Linked DNA regions of Homo sapiens: all the other regions are linked to region 2. The links are contacts of gene promoters, found by promoter capture Hi-C in blood cells and fetal thymus (Javierre and others, 2016). All regions are on one chromosome and are shown on one strand. The core of a region is centred on a gene start or on the middle of the fragment in contact, and the rest is flanking DNA. Distances in the headings are between cores, read along the strand shown. Region 1 overlaps ATXN7 (ataxin 7). Region 2 holds the start of KBTBD8 (kelch repeat and BTB domain containing 8). Region 3 overlaps ATXN7 (ataxin 7).

Evidence for each region. The method cuts DNA at HindIII sites, captures the fragments that hold promoters and counts their contacts. A CHiCAGO score of 5 or more calls a contact.
Region 1: a fragment that was not itself captured here is called in contact with the fragment with the promoter of KBTBD8 in region 2 in 1 of 17 cell types (fetal thymus); the score reaches 8.5 in fetal thymus.
Region 3: a contact is called between a fragment that was not itself captured here and the fragment with the promoter of KBTBD8 in region 2, in 2 of 17 cell types (fetal thymus and total B cells). The highest score is 11.1, in fetal thymus.

Annotation. Positions count from the first base shown.
Region 1 is chr3:63,965,387-63,968,781 of GRCh38, reverse strand. All of the region lies in intron 5 of ATXN7 (ataxin 7), which reads right to left. Among named protein-coding and RNA genes, the nearest start is that of PSMD6-AS2, 37 kb to the left of the region's middle. RefSeq lists an enhancer at 250-469. The HindIII fragment of the contact is 159 bases long and covers 1,384-1,542 here.
Region 2 is chr3:66,996,667-67,000,347 of GRCh38, reverse strand. KBTBD8 (kelch repeat and BTB domain containing 8) reads right to left here and starts at 2,041. Exons shown (of 4, transcript NM_032505.3): 1 at 1,977-2,041; 2 at 1,157-1,367. The coding sequence starts at 1,992. RefSeq lists enhancers at 221-320, 2,284-2,383 and a silencer at 1,624-1,943. The HindIII fragment of the contact is 2,180 bases long and covers 1-2,077 here.
Region 3 is chr3:63,911,531-63,914,845 of GRCh38, reverse strand. ATXN7 (ataxin 7) reads right to left here. Exons shown (of 13, transcript NM_001377405.1): 3 at 1,923-2,258; 4 at 1,621-1,689. The coding sequence starts at 2,247. It also overlaps SCAANT1. Among named protein-coding and RNA genes, the nearest start is that of ATXN7, 49 kb to the right of the region's middle. RefSeq lists a silencer at 1,945-2,784 and an enhancer at 3,115-3,194. The HindIII fragment of the contact is 2,350 bases long and covers 891-3,240 here.

The DNA.
Region 1 (3,395 bases), core at 214-2,713, 3.0 Mb after region 2:
TCTGAGACAGGTAAGGTAATATTGAGACCAGCCTCCACACATCCACCCAAGAATCAGCTTAGCTCTGCTGGCTACCTTAATAACACAACTAAAAAAAATCATCTTTTCTGGCAGTCAGTCCATAATTAAATTTTTATACACTCAATTTAAGTTACTGAATGACTTCCCAGGGTTACTGTTTGTATTTTGAAGTTGTTCTTCCTCTTGACGCAGTGTTCTGTTTGAAACTTTGCTGTGGAATTGAAGTATCTGACAAAACAGCTTTCAAACACATTCTACAGGAAACACTGCAAACTGCCTGTCATGAAACCTCACTTACCACAAGTAAGATAAAAAACAAACAGTTAAAGCGTGTTACAACGTTCCTCCATTTTTAGAGAGAGATGTAACCAATACTCTCTCTGTTTTGAGATATGGGAACTGTTTGGTGCAAACCTCAGCATTTTGTTGGAGTTAATAACAAACTCGGCTCCCGTCTGCATCTGAACTTTGGCCAGATCACTCAAATGACATTTCAGAATGGCTTCTGTGGACAGCTTGCAGCAGCTAATCCCTGTGGCTGCGATTACCCACGCTGATCCCCTAGCTCTGCAGGCTCCCTCCCTCCACTACTTGAGCAGCAGAACCCTCCTGGCCTGCTGGCAAGGCAAGACAAATGCCAGGAGGAAAAAGGCCTGCATAAACTCTTCCCAAATCTGCTTGGTTCTATGTAAGGTTAGCAAAGACCTACCCCACCGTCCACAGGCTCATCCAGAGCTGGGCCCTGAGCCAAGCCCAGACTCTGAAAACTGCCTCAGAAAACTTACCCAGTGGAGCTTTCAGCTCCTGCGCAGAAGGGCTGCTTTGGAGAGGCGTCTTGCTACCTTCCATTCACAGAATTTGGTTGTGCTTCATTGCACACTTGCTACTGCAGGCTTGCATCATGATTTGGGTCTGCCCACCAACTCCAAATATGCTCCATGTTTGGGCTTATGTAACATTTGCTACTACTGTAAAAAGCACTTGAATTACAAAGGTCCTGGCAGATCAACAGAAAACAGGGGGTGGAGTCTAATTTCATCTAATATGGTCATACAAGGCGTCCTGGCTGGTGTAAATTAATCTTTCTATTGGAAAGGCAACTTGTCAAAACTGGGGAAGATGGAATTTATAAGTTTAACCTGCTAAAATGCAAATTACTTATATTTTGTGAATTTTTTTTCTGAATACCTTTAAACTGACAAAGCTACTACCAGGTATATTACAAAACTTACATGATTTATTTAAAAACCTACATTTTAAGTCTCGGTAGACCTAAAGGTCTTAAAGTTAAACATTTCTATAAAATACCTGCAGCATTTTTCCAGGTTTTATTTCCCCTATACTATCTACAGTTGCTAAGCTTTTCAAAAAAAGTTTATTATTCCTAAGCATACTTTTCCTTCCTAAATCTAGTAACAAAATATCTGAACCCACTTTCTGTGCATATTTGTAAAATATGTATAATTTCATATCCACATTTGTCCAGTTTGTTGTTCAATCACTAGAGGACTGACTAAAGCTTTCATACTTTTAAATCCAAGAATTTCTCTCACTGAGTGCCCCCTTGAAAACAGTGTCTTCCTGGCCTGTTTCCCTATCATCCCTATCACACTCCCTCTCTCTGGCCAATCAACAAATCTACTGTCAAATGACACAGAATGGGGTGTAATGGCTCACACCTGTAATCCCAACTACCTGGGAGGGTGAGGCAAGAGTCCAGGAGTTTGAGGCTGCAGTAAGCTATGACTGTGCCACCGCACTCCAGCCCAGGTGACAGAGTTCTAATAAAAACAAAACAACAACAAAAAATCCCCACAAGTGACATGGAAAAAACTGCCAAGTGATCTGAGTTTTATGATAATAATGACTTAGATACCTGATAGTTCAAAATGAACTCTTTTAAATGTCAAAAGAAGCAGCAAAAGATTCTTCTACAGAATCCTATCACCCCATACAGAATATTTGGCAAAAGTCATGAATTACATATGTGGAAATGATTTAGCCTGAAAGGTGCGGGGAAGAGTTCTGAGAGAGGCATGAAAACGGCTTCTATTAGACCAAATTCTAAATTGACTCTAAAACAGAAGAACAGTAGCTGCACTGCCCTATTTTCACAAGGATTCAGATCCCAACCCATGTCAACAATACTAAGACCCAGGGGGTTTTCTGAAACCCACTTTTTTTCCCCCAGATTCCTTACAGTAACGTTCATACAATCCAAAACTATGGAAGCCCTTAGAAGACACTAGAAGAACGCAAGGGAAGAGCCATCAGCAAGCCTTAGAAGCACAGGATGAGGATACATCTCCCAAATCTTTTTAAAAGCTCATAAGCGAAAATAAGAATTTTAAGTTAATTCACTGAAGCTTTTCTTAAGCTAGAAAAAAAAAATTCCATGGCTGTAAAACCTGATTGCCACAGGTCTTAGTATTGTTCACCCTACTTCACCTGCCCTCCCTGCAGGGGTAGCCAAGGAATCTCCTTAATGCCATCAATAGCAGAAAAGAACAGGGTAGGAGGATCTTTCTGGAGCTAAATCTCACTTCCCTATCACTGTACTTGTATGACAGAACACCAGAGTCCTTGCTGGCCTTCCTAGCACAAATGCTTGCCTTTCTAATATTCCCTTTCGTACACAGTGATTGTACGAAATACAGTGGGGAAAAATATCGTTATGAGAGTCAGCCAATCCAAGACAGTTCTAAGAATCAAGTCGTTCTGCAACCCTGTAAAAAACCAGGGTGAATTTTAGCAAATGTTCTTAAATGCTACAAACAAACGTCTATATTTAAGTTCACAAATAAACAAGAGAAAAACGAATTTTAACTTATTTTTAAGACCTACATCAGAAAAGGGATGAATGGTCGTGTATGCCAGGAAAATATTAATTTTGTACACATACACAGAAATTGAGAACAAAGCTCAGATTAAAATTTTAAACACTCACATGTGCCCCCTTAATGCCCTGAATAAAATGTTTAAGCAAATACTGCTTTGTTCTGCTTGTAAAGCATTATCACAATTTTCTTCAAACCGTTTCTCGATATCCTATCCAAATAAAGTTTATTTTGATATTAAATATCCCAATGATGGCTCAGACGTTAATTGTCTAGGTCTGGGGACATGGTCATATTTCTTTTTCCCTAAGAAAAAAATTAAGACTACAGACTAAAAAAATACTACAGACTAAAATAACATCTTAATAGAATAACATCCGTGCCTCACTGACCGAAAATTATATGTATCAGCTGTGGTTTGGATGGTGTACACATGTCAATTTTACTCTAGTGCACAAAGGGAGTTCTGAACTGTGCATTAGCCTATTCGCAGCAAACAGGCAAACTTGCAGGAGGCTAGGAGGAACACTCAAGGTT
Region 2 (3,681 bases), core at 792-3,291:
TTCCATTACCAGGCCAAACTTCATACCTTCTGCATATGTGAGTTTTTTTTTCTTTCCAGCTCACTGTCTTGCGATGATTAATACTTAGTAGTCCAATGACCTACCCTAGGCAAGTCTAAACGGTTACATCACAAGCATCAGACTGAAGTGACTATATTTAACCCAGTATTCTGAGAAAGAGGAACCAGAAACTACTGTTGGAACATTATATGGTTATGTGCCCTATAAAGGTAAGCACCTTCAAAAGGAAAAATCACATTCAGAGTGTGGTTGATAACTTTACTATTATTTATGCACCACTTGTGAATACTGAAAGGCTTAAAGTGAGCATTTGACACAAAAGAAGTTAAGCCCATGCAGAAAACTGCCTTTTCCACTCATCTTAAAGTAGGAAGTTATTTTTCAGACCCAAGTTTTTAAATTTTACTTTTAAAAGTTTTATAGTAGACAATATAAGTAAAAACAAAAACTTCGTTTAACATACTTCTAGAAATCTTGGATATTATTAATTTGGGGCCTTAGGCACAAAGAAACTATATTCATTCTTGCTTTGACCCCCATAGCATTTAAACAATCTATTGAGTGGTAATTTGTTTTTGAAGGAACATGCTACATGTTTTAAACTATTTTATAAAAGAGTCCCATACACTAAAGAAACATGCATTATGGATAACTTTTTGAAAGAAATTCTAGATCAGCACTGTCCAATAAAATTGTCAATGATGAAAATGCTGTATTTCTGTGCTGCCCAATATGGCAGCCACTAGCTGCAGGTGACCAGCAAGCACTCAAAAAGTATTTAGTGTACCTGGGGAACTAAATGTTTTATTTTATTTAACTTATAATTTAAGTTTAAACAGCCACACATGGCTACTGGCTTCCATACTGACCAGCACAAGTCTAGATTTTCTGGTCATTTACCTCAAACACACACACACAGGCCCACTAACTTAAAAAGCAATCACCCGAAATCTAGAAGAATCCCTCAAGTCAAAAGAAGGTCTTAGTTAAGAGAGGACTTGTTTTCTAGTCTCAAGAAACAAAGTCATTGGTTTCATTTCATTATCGCATCTCAATATAAACATCAAGTGGACAATACTGAGGGGGAAAGGGAGCTTGGTGCAGATACCAACAGAAGTTCCTACCATCATCATACCTGAAGTAAGGGCTGATTGCAGCAAGAACGTTTCTATGACAGGAAAATGTTTTCCCGTGATCCACTTCCACTACAATGTCTGTCAACTGTCCTTCATCGTACATTGTTTTGAGTTGCTTAAGAATACTGCAAGCATGGAAGGGGTCCATGGCATCGCTGGCTGGGTCTGAAGATGGAATCCCATTCGGTGTTGGGGAAGACTTACTTAAATCTAGGAGGAGAAAAATCGTACAACTACAAGAAGTGCCGAGCCAGTTACGGCATCGCGGGATTTTTCTGTTTGTGTGTCTGCTTGCTAGGCTTTTTCCCCCTACAAGATATATACAAATGTCTGTGGATATACGCACGACCTCGTGGGACCGCGAGTTAAGGATCTGGGAGACAGAGGGCGGAGCGCGATCGGCGGAACAAGTTCAAAGGCCAGCCTGCTCCTGCGGAGCCCGGCGAGCCCGGCACCCGTGCTCGCGGAGGAAACGCGCTCGCAGCCCAGGAGAGGCGTCTGCGCGGACTCCGCCGAGAGCCGAGGGCAGAGCCTCACGAGGGAAGCTCGAACAACGGCGGCCGCCGGTGCCCCCTCAAGCCGCCTCCCGCTGCCTCCTGGGGCGCAGCGCCGGCGGGTACCCAGCCTCCCCATCCCGGTCCCGCCGGACCGCCCACCGCCCTCCGCACCATTCATCCTCCCTCTTCTCATTCCCCTCCACCGCTTCATCCTTCCCTCTAGCTCCGCACCGCTACGTCCTCATCCCACTGCCTGTGGCCGGCCCCGGCCCACCTTCCCCCTCACCTCCCTCCACGCCGCCCTGGCCACCACACGACCCACCTGCCGACGCGGCCATTTCTCGATGGGGCCCCGACTCCAGCTATTTAAAAAGGAAATGTCATTTCGCTTCTCTAGCTCCCGGGTTCCGGCTCTTCTAAGCTTCCCCTGGCCAATGGGGTGTCCTGTGCATCTGGCTCCACCCCTAGCCTCCGAATTCCTGGCGCTGATTGGCCACGACGCGAGCACATGCGTGTCGGGAAATGTAGTTTGATTGCCCCGGCTCCCGCGTGGTCCGGGTCGGGCGGAGGCCCAAGCCGGGAATTCCTATTGGCTGATTCGGATGGAGGTGGAGAGCAGGGAGCTGGCCAGCCTGTGGCCGTCGAGCGCGCAGTGCCTGCCGGGAGAGGTAGTCTTCTGGCGGAGGAGAACTGTCATTCTGAGGGGCTGGGGTAGGGAAAGCTCTTCAAGTGCGAATTTCCCCATTTTAGGCCTCTCTCCTGGCCCCCGGCACATTTTTTTACCTTTTTCTTCTTCCGTAAACTTCCTGCCAGTGACTAGCTTCCGGTATGAAATCAAGCTCTGCGTGAGAGCTGTAAAACCAGAAAAATGTGGAAATGGACAGGAGGGCTGTTGTCCAAAAATGCAAAGGAAATCTGACGTCCCACCCTGAAGAAAAATATCACAAGGCCCAAAAGCAAGGCGTCTCTGATGAGTCACCTATGACACCCAATTGAAATAGCATCGCCTTGGCCGGGTGCTCTGGTTTCCACAGATTAACTTGGTCTGGTTACAGCGGCTGCTTAGGATCTTCAACTCCCACTGGTGCCTTGCTTTTCTAGCACACCCAGAGAACACCTGTTCCTCACGTGAACATTACAAGGGGATCCAAGATGCTTTACTTTTTGCTCTTGGGAAATGGAGGGGATACAATACTAAGTATTCCGGAATTTCCTTTGAAAAAATACCGGAATGCCCTGAGCCCGGAGCCAGGGATGATTACTGAAGCCCTGGCTCTTTAGTCACTATATGTGAGAACTGACATAAGACCTTTCAACCCCTGAGCGCTTAGATCCTTCATCTGTAACGTGAAGTAATAGTAATCCGTACTCCATGGATTTCATAGGCTGCAACCTTTTGGAAAGAAAATCAAAATTTTACTGTTGACGAATTTTTATTTACTCATCTTGTGTTTCTAACATCTAACGGGGTGCCTGGCACATTATAGATGTTTCATATTTTAAAAATAAATGTAAGGTGCAAATGAGCTAACATTGGGAATGCTATTTCTAGATGTTAAAATGTAAGGAAGTATCAGCGAATGGGAAGAATTTCTAGTAGACATATAGTTAGCCCGTGTGCATAACTTTTCTAGCACTGAAAAGATCAAACCGTTGAACTTCTTGATAAAGAAAGGATCTTGGAATTTAAATTGTGATTGAGAAAGAGAAATAATTATGAAAAACAATTCAGTTCTGTCTTCTAGGTCTGCTGAGAAATTTAGAACTTAAAATACTATAATCCCATGCAAGTTAACAGGAAGTGGTGTTTCCTCATGACTGGGGTTTCTGCATATACATATGCACTTATAATTTCTTCTTTGTGAATGTCCTGTATGCACGTTTCTGGATAGATGAAATTGACTTAATTTTGGTTACTCATAACTTTATTTTTTCGTTTTTATGATGTTGCTTTCTAATTTATTAAAATGGTAGCACTTTATGACAATATGGTTAGTATTGAGGAAAAAAATGGCGTTAATCCTTAG
Region 3 (3,315 bases), core at 816-3,315, 3.1 Mb after region 2:
CTGATAAAAGTATCCCAACAGAAAATAATATATCTAGCAAAAATGAGGTACAGTCCCCTTAATTTGGTTGGGTCCCTGTCCAGCTCAAGGTACCCACTGAAACATTAATACACTTAACTCATCCTTTACAGCAGAATTATTGATAATTACAATCTTGTTTTCACACAGATTTAGAAACGTTTTATAGGATATGTATCCACACCCAGAGAATGAAAACTAAGAACAAGAGTAGGTCAGGTCCTCTAAAGTTCTACTCTAACTGCTTACTGTGAGAGTTGCCACCTAGTGATTTTAATTTTTTAAGCCCAGGCAGGCTGCCAATTCAGCACTAAAACCGGACTAGCAACTGATTTTTCATATTGCAACATCATCAACAAGTCCTGTGCTTTCCCTTGCTTTCCTTTACCCTCAAATAGCAATTCTCATTTTAAAAATCAACTAATTTGTTCTATAATCTGTTCCAATTGGAAGCTCTCATCGGGCTGTCACTGGTATTACTCTTCCTCCGAGTGCCAAGAGGCCAAAAAGCGCCCAATTCAAAAAAACCGAAACAGAGTTAAGTGAAGAAAAAGCAGGTGTGAAAAGCGAGAAGGAAATGTGAAGACAGTAACAATGGGCAAACTTTGGACTTAAAAATGTTCCAGTTGCCAAAGTTCTACCTATCCTTGGGCCATAGACAACAATTCTGCAAAATAAATGGCTACGAGTGAGAAATAAAATTGCATTCGGGGACTATAAACTCAGTATTCCGGGGCCAAACCTCACTCAAAGCCTTGTCCTAACTCACTGAAAGAATAACTTGAAACTGAACCCGAAGTTCACTGGACTTCAGAAGTCCTTTCTGACCACGGTATGCCCAGGCCTAGTGCAGGTATTAGACAACAAAAGCTTACTATTCAAAGAAAAAGAAAATCTCAAGAAAAAGTCTGACACTTTCCAGATACCTGGCCTGACTTTCATTTGGAGGCATACCCTATTTCCCTAGTGTATCTTTTTACCAAACAGTTTAAAACTAACAAATAATTAGACCCTGATTTCACCAGCCACGGGCAGTAAAGGCTTATTTGACCAAATAAAATTCTGGCTTTCTTTCCCCCGTGATATTGGCAGCTCGCAAAAAATCTGACCAAAATGCACTCCGGGTTATGATGACCTTTTTCTAACATCCCCAACTTGTACCTTAAATCCTACAGAAATAAGACTGCATAGGTAAAGCATCTTCTTTAAGTTCAAAATTCGTTTCGATTGCCAACAGAAAATGTCCCCTAAGCATTCGTGGAAAGGTTTCAAAGCTGAGAATTCCTTCCTCTACTCCTGTTTCTCCGTAAGGAGGTCAGAAATGCAGAGATCTAGGTTAAACTTCCCGCCGGTTCCCAGCGCTCATCACCAATAATGCTGCTCCTGCCTGGTCACAGAAGGATTCCGGACGCTCTCATTACAGGAGGCCCCCAAACCAAACTTTCCAAGCGCTCTGCCCCCTCCCTCCCTCCTCAGGCAGCATCTTCGCAGGCACGGGGAGTCGGGGAGTCGGTATGGTGGGCTGATGTTCCCGGTCCCAGTGAACTGTCAATGAAACTTCCCAGGGGTTTGTACAAACTCCATCAGGGGGGCTGGACTCACCTTCCCGACAGAGCCCCATGACTTCGCGGTTTTTCCCAAACTCCTTGAAACTTTCGTCCAATTCTGTCCCTAGGAGATATACACACACAGGAGGAGGGGAGAGGCAGGTCAGTGGCCAGGAGTGTGACGCACACTCACGCACGCACGGGGTAGGTGTGGGCACCTCCGCGTTCCGCAACCCAGCAAACGATAGCATCTCTGCCCCTCGAGGGGGCGGGTCACAGGAGGGGGGCAGGGGGGAGGGGAGGAGAGAGGAGGGGGTCGCGAGGGGGTGAAGGGGGGAGGAGGGCGTGGACACTCACCGTCCTTCCCAGGAAGTTTGGAAGCCTCAACCCACAGATTCCACGACTGTCCCAGCATCACTTCAGGACTGGGCAGAGGCCTGCGCTCCCCGACCGTCGCCATTGCGGCGGCCGAGGTGGAGGCGGCGCCGGGCCCGCCGTCCTCCGGCCGTGTGCGCCGTGGCGGCGGTGGCGGGTGCTGCTGCCGCTGGGGCTGCGGAGGCGGCGGCTGCTGCTGCTGCTGCTGCTGCTGCTGCTGCCGGGCGGCCGCGGCCGCTGCTCCGCCCGCCGCCGCCGCCGCGCGGCGCGGCTCCCCCCTGACGTCATCCGCGGCCCGCTCCGACATTCTTTCCGCTCCTACAATGTAACAAAAAAAAGGGGGAAAGAGTCGCGCGGGGGCCGTTTTTTAAGGAGGCGCCAGGGAGTTCCGGCGGCGTGCGCGGCCCGCGGACCGGGTGGGGCACGCTGACAGCGCCCCCATGGCCGCCCAGCCCCCCGAGCCCGCCTCCTCAAGGCCACCCCCCGCCCCGGGCTCAAAGTCCGCGGCGCGGGCTAGCTTTCGCTTTCGACTCCCGCGGCCGCCCGAGGGAGGGGACGGGCAGCAGGCGGCCCGCCACCGCGGCGCTGGGTCCCCTGCCTGCTTCTGCTCAGAGGACCTGGCGCGGAGGCCAGCGCCGGAGCGGCCCGGCTCCAACCCCGCGCCCCACCATGGCAGCCCGCGCGGGGAAGCCCGAGCCGCACCCCAGGACCTCCAGCTGCCCACCCTTCGGCCGCTTGCATCCCCGGGCCCGGCCCGGCTGCCCCGCTCCTTCCTTCCGTCCGCGCGTCCGTCCGAGCGGCGGCACCCGGCCGGCTCCCTTAAGCGGAGACGCCTCCCGCCGCCTCCTCCCACTTGCCGGTCCCTCCCTCTCAGCTCGCTCCGGCGAAGTTTGCACGTCAAGCCCCCGGACTGGAGCCAGGGCGAAGTCGGAAATGCAGCCACCTATGGAGGAGCCGGCCGGCCGGCCCCAGGGCAGCGCGGGAGAGGCTGGTGCAGGGGGCACTTTGCCCTCGGCTTGCGGGCGGCCGCAGAGTTGTCAAAAGCATGAATGGGAAGCCGCCGCAGAGCGGACTCCGGGCGTGCAGGGAACCTTGGGCTAGCGGGGAAGTGCCTCCCAGGTGTCTGCCCAGGTGTCAGGACGAAGTACCGTGTGCACGCCACGCCGCCCACATGTGTGCCCCCGACCCGCAATTGGAAGTCACACTGTGCGCCTGGGGAACTTGAATTCGTCCAGCAAAGAGAGAACATGAGATCAGTGTGCGAGGGAATGGAGGAGAGTGAAACAAACCGAGAGAAGCTTTAACCCGTGTACATATTTTAGAGGCACCACCCCAAGTTTCTGGAAGTGATTCATTCACCCCAAAAGTAAAAATC